4 separate regions of the Homo sapiens genome follow, and regions 1, 2 and 3 are each linked to region 4. The links are contacts of gene promoters, found by promoter capture Hi-C in blood cells and fetal thymus (Javierre and others, 2016). All regions are on one chromosome and are shown on one strand. Each heading gives the region's core, a stretch centred on a gene start or on the middle of the fragment in contact. The rest is flanking DNA. Distances are from core to core; before and after follow the strand shown.

What was found. Contacts are between HindIII fragments. The CHiCAGO score rates a contact against its expected background, and 5 or more counts as called.
Region 1: a fragment that was not itself captured here is called in contact with the fragment with the promoter of AK4 in region 4 in 1 of 17 cell types (erythroblasts); the score reaches 5.1 in erythroblasts.
Region 2: a contact is called between a fragment that was not itself captured here and the fragment with the promoter of AK4 in region 4, in 1 of 17 cell types (monocytes). The highest score is 5.3, in monocytes.
Region 3: a fragment that was not itself captured here is called in contact with the fragment with the promoter of AK4 in region 4 in 3 of 17 cell types (erythroblasts, monocytes and megakaryocytes); the score reaches 6.4 in erythroblasts.

What each region holds. Positions count from the first base shown.
Region 1 is chr1:65,707,083-65,709,782 of GRCh38, reverse strand. No RefSeq gene overlaps it. Among named protein-coding and RNA genes, the nearest start is that of PDE4B, 84 kb to the left of the region's middle. The HindIII fragment of the contact is 1,579 bases long and covers 558-2,136 here.
Region 2 is chr1:65,812,148-65,814,847 of GRCh38, reverse strand. The region is part of intron 1 of PDE4B (phosphodiesterase 4B); the gene reads right to left. Among named protein-coding and RNA genes, the nearest start is that of PDE4B, 21 kb to the right of the region's middle. RefSeq lists an enhancer at 2,447-2,676. The HindIII fragment of the contact is 2,879 bases long and covers 1-2,700 here.
Region 3 is chr1:65,677,363-65,680,062 of GRCh38, reverse strand. No RefSeq gene overlaps it. Among named protein-coding and RNA genes, the nearest start is that of PDE4B, 110 kb to the left of the region's middle. The HindIII fragment of the contact is 2,836 bases long and covers 1-2,687 here.
Region 4 is chr1:65,146,902-65,149,601 of GRCh38, reverse strand. It overlaps AK4 (adenylate kinase 4), which reads right to left and starts at 1,399. Exons shown (of 5, transcript NM_013410.4): 1 at 1,050-1,399. The coding sequence starts at 1,194. RefSeq lists enhancers at 1-150, 151-869 and silencers at 463-742, 803-1,102, 1,483-1,982, 1,993-2,232. The HindIII fragment of the contact is 4,960 bases long and covers 1-2,700 here.

The DNA of each region.
Region 1 (2,700 bases), core at 98-2,597, 560 kb before region 4:
GCAGCTACCAATCTAAAAAGCTTTTAACTAAGTCCCTAAGGCTGAATATTGGCATCCTTTCTCAGTGGTTAAATAAAATATGCAACAACGTAAATAGGCTTAAATTGAGCTGCCAGTTTAAGACTTGGGATTTCTATCATCTTCTGACTGAGATTTGACCCAGCTATTTTTTGACTTCTAATTACTTCTATACAGGTGATCCTTCTCCAGTGTTCTTCAAAATAGAGATTGACAGAAAATTTTCTTCAGCTGAATCCTCAGCTCCTTGATAATGTAAGAAAAAAGAACATTCTGTGGACTTTCCTGGTCCCAGTTGTGGTTTAAAAAAATAATAACAACAGAATGTTAAAAAGATAACTTTTCTATCTCAGTTTTGATGAATGTGGTACATAGCAGATATCAAACTACACGTAAAGCCTAAAATAGGGTTGAGAGAGTGGATATAGAGAGAGAGGATTTGGAAAGAGATTTCTTCGGAGAAAGCATGACTTTGCTGTGAGACTCCATCCTATCCCATCCAAAATGAGGGGAAAGTTTATCTCGGTCACCTTAAAGCTTACTGATGGGGCATTCACTGGCCTCGAGGAGAGCTTTACATTGTGCTTTAAAGCTGGAAGACACTTGCCCTGACCCTCAAGCAAGAAAGATAAAGCAGCCTTTGGGTGAAGAATAAAAACTGCCACATTGCAATGGGCCAGCACTCCCAGAGTTTGTCAGGGCAAGGGACGAGTACCTATTCCCTGTGGTCTTGCTATGAGCCACACAAAAGAGAAGGGCAGATTGGACTCATGTTAAGTCCGATCAAGAGAAGTATTTGACGCCTGTAATCCCAGCACTTTGGGAGGCCGAGGCAGGCGGATCACAAGGTCAGGAGATCGAGACCATCTTGGCTAACACGGTGAAACCCGGTCTCTACTAAAAATACAAAAAATTAGCCGGGCGCGGTGGCGGGCACCTGTAGTCCCAGCTACTCGGGAGGCTGAGGCAGGAGAATGGCGTGAACCTGGGAGGCGGAGCTTGCAGTGAGCCGAGATTGTGCCACTGCAATCCGGCCCGGGCTAAAGAGCGGGACTCCGTCTCAAAAAAAAAAAAAAAAAAAAAAAAAAGAGAAGTATTTGAGAGGGTGAAGAATCGGCTGTAGAGATAACTGGAAAACCAGGGGCTGGGGATAGATAGCAAGGTGGGATGGGGCCGGGTTGTGAGTCAAAGGCGGGGTGGTGAGTCCATTCCCAACATCAAGGAAGCTGCATTGAAATACCACAAAAGTAGCCATAAAAGCAAGTCCTCTTGAAACACCCAGATCATGATGCTATCTGGTAAAGGTCAGAAATGGCAGCTAGCTTGTCGGGAAGGAGAATGAACAGAGCAGAAATGCATGTCCTTCCCTGGAGGATGCAGGTTCAGCAACTAGAGGTAGTCCTACCTTTTAATATGTATTAGGTTTGTGCAAAAGCAATTTTAATGGCAAAAACCGCAATTGCGTTTGCACCAACCTAATATATAAGGGAAAATGGTATCTTGAACTGGACATCTTTAATATGTGAATCCAGACTGATTTTGAAACTTAAAGAGACAGACCTGTCTATGGAGGCCTGGCAGACACAGTTTTATCCAGGAAAAGGAAAATATTTTCTCCCTGGAAAAAAAAAAAAAAAAAGTATTCCAGTGGACAATGGCAGACTTACTGATAGCTAGCTTCCTAAGTACCAAGCAGTCTTCTAAATGCTTTGTCAGTGCTAACTCTTTTAATCCTCACCACACTCCTGGGAGGCAGATATTATTTTTAACTCCATTTTGAGGACCTATGAGGTTGCTGAGGTACAAAGAGTTTAACTAATTTGACAAAGGTCACAGAGCTAGTAAATACCCAAGTTAGGATTAGATATTTAGCAGTCTGATTCCATCAAGCTCCAAAGTTGGATGCATTCATTGAAAATTATGTAGTGAAATAACTGAAACTCCTCATGGCCATTTTAGAGGAAAAAGTGCTTGCGGGCATTAGGAATCATGAACATTCTATCCTCACTCCTTGGCACATAGTATAAGCAATCTCATTAATTGCTTGGGGGTCCTTACCTTCCAGTGATAACTAACCTAGGGAGCAAAGATCATGTTTCCAAAATTAAGCTGTAAGCTTCTTGCAATTAATGAGAGACAATTTCATACTTTTTTGCATAAATGTTGCATATGTAGGACCATAATAATCATCTGTGGTGATAACATGTGAATTTAAGGAGATTTCATGGGAAAAGACAATTATTTTTCTGCTAGTGATTCAAACTTGATTCAAGATAGGTTTTGAGTGAATTGTGAACATAGGCTTGATCTAAAGCTGGTGAAATATGCCTTGCATTTTCCATATTTTCTATTGCTACCTGGGATCTAATATTTACTGGGGTAGAGAGAAAACCAACAATTACCAAGCATCTTTTATATACCAGTTGATTTCATTGTAGGTTATTACCTTATAGAATTCTCATGAGAAAGATAATTGAAGTAATTGCCAGTATCTCCATTTGGCCGATTTTAACAATAACTAACATTAGTTGAGCACTTCCCCTGTGCCAGGCACTATTTTAATTTTTAAATGAATTCATTGATCCCTGTAATAATGTTATGAATTATTATTTATCTTATTTTACAGATGGGGAAACTGGAGCATTCACAGGTTAAAAACTTCCCCAATATTTTGCCATTTAG
Region 2 (2,700 bases), core at 116-2,615, 670 kb before region 4:
TAGCTGGTATTTTTGTAATAGTTTACACCTGGGAACAACCTAAATGACAATCAACAGGTAAATGTATAAAGACATTTTGCTATATCCCATACAGCAATAAGAAAAAAAGCATCCTTTGAGTGACAGAAACAAAAAAAAGCAGATACTATATGATTCTATTTATATAAAATTATAACAACTAAAACTAATTCACAGTGAAAGAAAGCAGATCAGTGTTTGCCAAAGGATGGGTTAGAGAGAGGAATGGACAGCAAGGAGGCACCAGGAAACTTTCGAGAGTAATGGAAATATCTTGATTGTGGTGTTTTCATAATTGAACACATTTGTCAATAGTCACTAAATTGTAGCCTTTTAAATGAGTTTAACTTATTGTACTTAAGCAGTATCTCAATAAAGTTTCTTTTAAAAAAAAGCATTACAGAAGGTGCACAAAATAATCCATTGGTTATAAGAATATATATATTACATTCATCTTTTATCAATGTATTTCATCTTCATAAATTTCTGTTTTCACATATTCTCTACAGCATCTAAACATATGTACATATAATAAGATGATGTGACTTAAATATTGTTATAAGGATGAGGGAGCAAAAGGATTTGAAGACTACCAGTCCAGCCAGCTAGAGGAAGAGTGCTGACACACACCCTGAGCTGTTTCCATCAACCAGCAGCTGCCTCGGGCAAGGCTTTGGCAAGCAATGTGCTGTAGTCAATTCACGACTGAATTTTCTGTCAAGTGCCCAGAGTGCCCCAGCCCTTCTGTTCACCTGGCTCTCGACTCTGGGTAATACCCAAAGCTCAAAACTTGGACTTCTTCACTGTTCTCTTTTTAGTCTAATAATTGGCTTAAAGCTCACATACACTCAGGGCTTCTATTATCAGCATAACACTGAAGACAAACAAATCTATATTCCAGATCTCTCAACTGTTGTTTTTTTTTTTTTTTTTTTTGCCGCAGTGCCTACTGCCTATTGGACACATTATTTTTCAAAGCTACATTCTAATTCAAATTCAGTATTTCTAACCCCATAGCTTCACAAACCAATTTCTTCTCCTACTCTTGCACTGCTGCCAAAGAAAAAAATACCCTGAAGTTATCCTTGATTCATTTTCCTCTTTTACTTTAAAAATCATAATTTCTACCCATTTGCCATTAAGGTCTTAATTTACCTATCTCATCTATCTGTAGCAGTGATTCTTTGAAACTATAGAGGACCCCCTCCTCAGAAAAACTACACTGGCACACATTTTTCATACTATTTTGAATATGATTTCCAGGGCCCACAATGAAAATGTATAGATCTCTATATTGTTCACTTCTAAAATCTGTTTACTCTGATCTGGCTTTTTCCTGAGAGTTCCAGACCACCTTCCAAATACTTTTCAGATAGGTATTATTTTATATGGCAAAAATATCTCAAACTTGCACGTTCAAAACTCAACATGCCATTTCCCCCAGCAAAACTGTATCTTTTTCTTAGTCTTTCTTTAGTGAATGGCAATTCAATTCCCCCAATTAATTAAAATAGTAACTTGCATATTACTGTTGACTTCTTTCTCCCTCCGTATACCTCTCACATCTAAATGGTAATTATAGTGACCTCCCACGATTAGTTAAGTGGCATGCATTTGACAAAGTATTAACAACCAACCCACCATATATGCTTACATATTTTCTGTATGAATTTAAATAAGTGACTCACTCCTCTACAGGTGAGCAGCTAATAAACCAAACCCTCAATACCTCATTCCTGAACTCCCTCGGTAGCCTCCTAACTCTCTGCCTGTTCCCAATCTCGTTCCAGTTTTAGTATCTCCCAACATGTCTTAGAATAGATTTAGGTATTCCCTCTCCAGCCCCTACAGAAACTTTAGTGTCCTTATCTTCATTCTTAAGGTTTTGTATTCCTGGGGCAACTTTTCCAGGGCTGTCTAGGACCCTTAGAAAGCAGTTGACAGGCAAATAGAAATAAAGAAGCTAGAGAATAATTGTTTAAGGTGTTATACTCTCTCCCAACCCCTGCCCAGTGCTATCTATTTGTGTTTTCATGGAGACTTTAGAATAGAGCTTCTCAACCAGTGCATTTCTATACATAATATCATATAGGAGGCTGAGACAGTCGTCCCCTCAGTCCCTAGGATAGGCATGTAATTCCTAGAACCACAAACAGCATTATCTATGTAGTTCAGTATTTACTACAAATATTAACATTCCAAAGTGTGCCAATGGATGAAAAAAATAATTGAGAGGCATTTAAAACACAGAAAGTCCCTCCAGTATCTAAAAACAATGAATTTCCACCCTGACATTTTACTGTCTTGGAAATTTAATGCCACCAACCTATAGTTAAAACCTACATGATTATGGCCAATTACATTTGGAAGGGATTTGTCCAAGTTGGCCCTGGATCAGGGAGAGCAGCAGCAGGTGAGAAATGCTGCCTTTGAGCAGCTGATGCAACCCAGGTGTGGCAGAGCATGGAGGGCCATACCCTAAGAAGGAGACCAGCAGAGAAACTGAAACAAGTGAGTAACTAACCTACAAGAGGACCCAGAAATTTAGAAAAGGAACTCTCAGAGCAGAAACTGAAAGCCAAGAACAGAACCCAAAATTGAGTCAGAGGAAATGAGGCAAAAGGTCAGACCTCGGGGAAGGAAGCTAGAGATGCCAAATCAGCAGAAGGCTGAGGGCTGAGG
Region 3 (2,700 bases), core at 20-2,519, 530 kb before region 4:
CAGACTAAGACTCTTTTTTGTTTTCACATGTATGCCCAATTTTTCAGCACCACTTACTGGGATTACAGGCGTGAGCCACTGCACGCAGTCCATTGCTTGATTTATGATGTTGAACCAGTCATATATTCCTGCAATAAACCCCACTTGGTTGGGATATATTATCCTTTTTATGTTTTGCTGGATTTGATTTGTTAATGTTTTCTTGAAGATTTTTATCTTCAACTGTTTATATCTGCAGTTTTCTTTCTTATAATATCTTTGTCTAGTCTTGGTATTGAGACATCCAATACTAATAAAATGAATTGAAAAGTGTATTCTCTGTTTTTACTCTGGAAGAGATTATGCAGAGCAATCAGGCAAGAGAAAGAAATAAGGGGCATCCAAATTGGAAAAGAAGAAGTCAAAGGATCTCTGTTTGCCAATGATTTGATTGTACACCTAGAAAACTCCTCCAAAAGACTCCTAGATTTGATCAATGAATTCAGTAAAGTCTCAGATTATAAAATCAATGCACACAAATCAGTAGCACTGCTATACACTAAGAATGTCCAAGCTGAGACTCACATCAAGAACTCAATTTCTTTTACAATAGCCGCAAAAAAAATAAAATATCTAGGAATATACTTAACCAAAGAGATTAAAAATCTCTACAAGGAGAACTACAAAATACTGCTGAAAGAAATCATAGATGACACAAACAAACAGAAAAACATCCCATGCTCATGGATTGGAAGAATCAATATCATGAAAATGACGATACTGCTCAAAGCAATCTACAGATTCAGTGCAATTCCTATCAAAAAGACACCTGCATATGTATGTTTATCACAGCGCAATTCCCAACTGCATAGATATAGAACCAGCATAAGTGCTCATCAACTGATGAGTGGATAAAGAAACTGTGGTATAAATACACCATGGAATACTACTCAACCATTAAAAAAGAATAAAATAATGCCTTTAGCAGCAACTTGGATGGAGCTGGAGGCCATTATTCTACATGAAGTAACTCAGGAATGGAAAACCAAATACTATATATTGTCACTTACGAATGGGAGCTAAGCTATGGGTGCACAAGTGCATGCAGAGTGGTACAATGGACTTTGGAGACTCAGAATAGGAGAGGATGGGAAGAAGATGAGGGATAAAGAAAACTACATATTGGGTACAATGTACCAATTTGGGTGATGAGTGCACTAAAATCTCAGACTTCACCCTTATGCAATTTATCCATGTCACCAAAAAACACCTGTACCCCCAAAAGTATTGAAATTTTTAAAAAGAAAAAAAAGAAGCTGTGAATTTCTTCCACGGATCCTCATATTAGATGCCTGTCTACTCAGTAAACTAAAAATATTTCTTCCTATATATGTCAAGCCACACCTATCTACTTAATTTTTGGAGACTGTGATCAATTAGCCGTAACCACAGATATCTATGTTTAAATAATCTGGCAATCTTGTTTTCCCTATCATGTAATCAGATATGATATTATAAAAGATGAAAGTATGTTTCTTGGTTGAAAGTCTGAGATTGAGCCCAGTCATGGGCTGGGACATGGCAACAATCTGAGGATTATTAGAGATACCCACCATCTGTGTTTGTTCAAGGGAAAGGTTGTATAATTGTGGTAAGGCTTAAGATTTATATTGTAGTGCCCATTTCAATAAAACAGTGCAAGGTTATTGGTATGGTTTGAATGTGTCTCCCAAAAATCATGTGTTGGAAAGTCAACCCCCAATACCACAGTGTTAAGAGGTGAAATCTTTAAGAAGTGTTAGGCCATGAGGGCTCTGCCCTCATTAAGAGATTCATACCATTATCCCAGGAGTAAGTTCCTTATAAGAGGATGAGTTTGGCCCTCACTTGCTCTCTCTCTTTCTCCTATGTGATGCCCTCCACCATGTTATGATGCAGCAAGAAGGCTCTCACCAGATGCCAGGCCCTCAATCTTGGACTCTCAGCCTCTGGAACCATGAGCCAGTTTGTGACATAAATTACCCAGTCCGAGATATTCTGTTACAGCAGCACAAAATGGACTCAGACAGTTATACTTTAACATATAGAGAAATGTCTTCTTGTGAGTTTGTCAACATTTTTATTATTGTTTAATATGCCCAGGTTACCCACCTGCTGACTAATTTATTTGCTTAAGAATACATCCTGTACCTCACTCTGTGCTTCTAGGCTCCATTTCTTTCTTGACTAAATCATTTGTTGGTTCTTTCAACAAGGTTCTATCAGTGGTGGATTCAGGTGCATTGTTAGTTTATCTCACTATTTTACAGATATTGTTCTATTGCCTTCTAGTTTCTATTCTTGCTTTTGAGAAGCCTACTTAGAGTTTATTTTTTCTTCCTTTGTAAGTTGTCTTTTTTCTCTGCTTTTGAAAAATATCTTTTCTTTATGGTTGTAGTTTGGAAGTTTCATCATCTGTCTAGGTGTGGATTTAGTTTTATTCACAACCTGGGCTTATGATTGCTGGGTCTTTAGGTTAATATTTTTCATCAATTCTGAAACATTGTCTCTCAGAAGACTCTTTGCCTACTATCTTTCCCTCATCTTCTTCATTATCTCTCTTTAGAGTTCCAGTTAGACACATAGTATACCTTCTCTCTCCACTTCCATGTCTTTTATACATTCCTTTTCTTTATCTTTTTTTTCTATACACATTCTAAATGTAAGCTTTTTTTATCTTTG
Region 4 (2,700 bases), core at 150-2,649:
TCCGGATAATTAGTCCATGATGGGCAATAACCAGCCCGGACATCCTTGAGAAGTACATCGACAGTAAAGGACCCCTGCTGGGAAGAACAACTTTTCATAAAGGAGTTGCTAATTACCAGCATCTCCATCCCAGAAGGGTTAAGAGCCTCGCAGCAGCACAACCGCTACCTCTCGCCTTTTAACGCCAATTCTTTCGGAACTGGTGTGAACGTGGAGTGGGAGGAGAGGGGGAAAGGGACGCACTCAACCCCGTCAGACTAAGAAATCAGGCGATCTATATATCCCCAAGTTCACCACGCCAGCCAAAGGAGGCATCTCATGCCAAGGGAGGCAGCTCAAGAAGCCATTTCCAGGAAAGCTGCATTACAAAATGTAATTTATCAGAACGAGTCTCCTCCGAGTCTCCTGACGGCCAGGCCCGGCGGCTTCGGGAGGGGGGGGAGTTGCTGGGGAGAGTTTACCTTAGAAGGCGACAACGAACAGACAGGCCTTTCAAAGCCACCCAGGGCTCTGCCCCGAGGCCCGAGGCTGCGTGGAGGGGCTGGAGAGGCGCGAGGCTGCGAGCCCCCCGGCGCCACAGGTTCCCCGGCGCGCGGCCCCGCCCGACTGCCACAGGTGGGCGGCGCTCCGCCTCTGGGCTCCCGCGGGAGGGGGCGCGCGGCTCTCTAGGGACTCGGGGGAGGGGGCCAGGGCTAAGGGGTACGGGGACGGCTCTGCCTTAAGGAGGGCAGCGTGAGACGGAAGCTCCGGGTTTTCCCTGCCTAGTTCTCGTTCCCTCGGCCGGGTGGCTCGGGCTATTCCTCGCGACAGGAGGAGCGGTGGAGAGGAGCCGTGGGCACCTCCCACCGGCCGCCCCTGGAGCCTCGGCCTCCTCCCCAGGCGCGGTTAAGCCGCGCGGCCGCCAGCTGCATGCGCCCCGGCACGTACGAGCCTGCACGACCACACGCGGGCGGGGGAAGGGCGCCGTGATCCGGGAGCCCCAGTCCCTCCAGGGCCTCACCCCAGCCCAACGCGGCTCGCCCCCGGCCCTCGTCCCCGCAGCCCCTCACCGGTGCTGGCCTTGATGTTCTCCCGCAAGAAGTGGCCGCTGGAGAGATGCTGGAGACCAAAGTTCTGGGCGATCCTCTGGCACACGGTGCCCTTGCCCGAGCCGGGCGGCCCGAGGATGACCGCGCGCAGGAGTTTGGAAGCCATTGCCTTCGCGAGGAGGGGGGCGGTCAAACGCGCAGCCCCGACCGCGGCCCCGGAGGAAGCCCCGGGAACTTTGTTTCTCGGCCCCCTACCTCTGGCACCCTCCGCTCTCACTGGGACTCGCCGGCCGCCCCTACAGGGGGAAGGAGAGACTTTTAAGACAACCCCTCCCCTCAGCCCAGCGCCGGGACCGAGTAGCAGGCGGACTGAGCGCCACGCTACACCTCCCCGCCCTTCTCCACCTCCTCGCCCTCCTCCACCTCCTCGCCCCCACGCAAAGCTGCTGAAGCGCGCCGTGCCCCGCCCTGCCGACTCGGCCTCCAGGGGTCAGAGGTCGGCCCGGCCAGTCCCACCTTCATCCTTAACTCCAGCTCGCTCCCCACGCCGCGTCCGAGAAGGGGGCCGGGCGGCCAGGCATCCCCAAGCCAGTCTCCGCCGAGCCGGGGAAGCTGGCACAAGCGGGGGTGACTCAAAGCCAGCCCCCGCCGCCCCACGCACCGGGCGGCCTAGGGGCTGAGCCCCTGCCCGGTCCTCGCACGTGGGCAACGTGTGGTCTGCGTCTCGTCCCCTCCCCGGCGGCTGTCACATCCCCCGGAGTCTCAGCTGCCGCCGCTGCCCGCCGCCCGCGCGCGCTCGGAGGGGCCCACCTCCGCCCGGGGTTGGCGGATGCGCTCCCCGGCCATGGGGCGCGCGACGAGCCCGAGCCCCGCGCCTCGCCACCAAAAGCAATCAAATAAACACACACCTTGGCTGGAGGCAGCACTCCGAGAGGCTTCCAGCCCGGATCCTGCAGGGCGGCGCCGCCTCCGCCCGCCCAGTCGCGGAGCCCCGGCCGGCCGCGCGGGACTCGCGCCTTACGTAAGCCCGGGAGACCGGCTCCGCGCGAGCCGCTGGCCGCCGCCCCCTCCCCTCCACTCCACTCCACTCCCACCCAGCCTGCCTGGCCCACGTGCTCCCTGCGACCCAGCGAGGGCTGCGGGGGCGAAGCGAGGTGCAGACCACGCGAGGTAGAGAAACCCCTTTTTTTCTTTCGCGGTCGCCTGGGGACCGCGGTCTACTGCAAGGGAAGGGAAAAATACAACTTGTTGAGCGCCTACTGTGCGCCAAGTTTGCGGCTAGGTGATTTCATTGTGTTTACAGCCGAGGAATGGAGCGTGACCATTCATTCATTGATTCATTCTGCAAATGTTTATTGAGTGCCTACTGTGTGCCAGAAACTATTCTAGGCGCTTAGGATCTAGCCGTGAACAACAGATCGAATCCTGCTCTCAAGAAATTGCGTCCTAGCGGGAGGCTGGAACCCAAGACTGACTGACTCCAAAGTCTAGGCGCCTTAGGGAACAGGGAAGAAGGGGATGTCCCTCACCTGTGTTCAGGACCTTCTTGGTAAATGATTCCAGGACTTCCATGCGCATTATGCTGGTGCTGCACCTATAACTCACCAAGTCCAAATGGAGTCTGTCTTCCCCCACTCCACCCTCCCCTGCATATCCCAATCCACATTCTGTT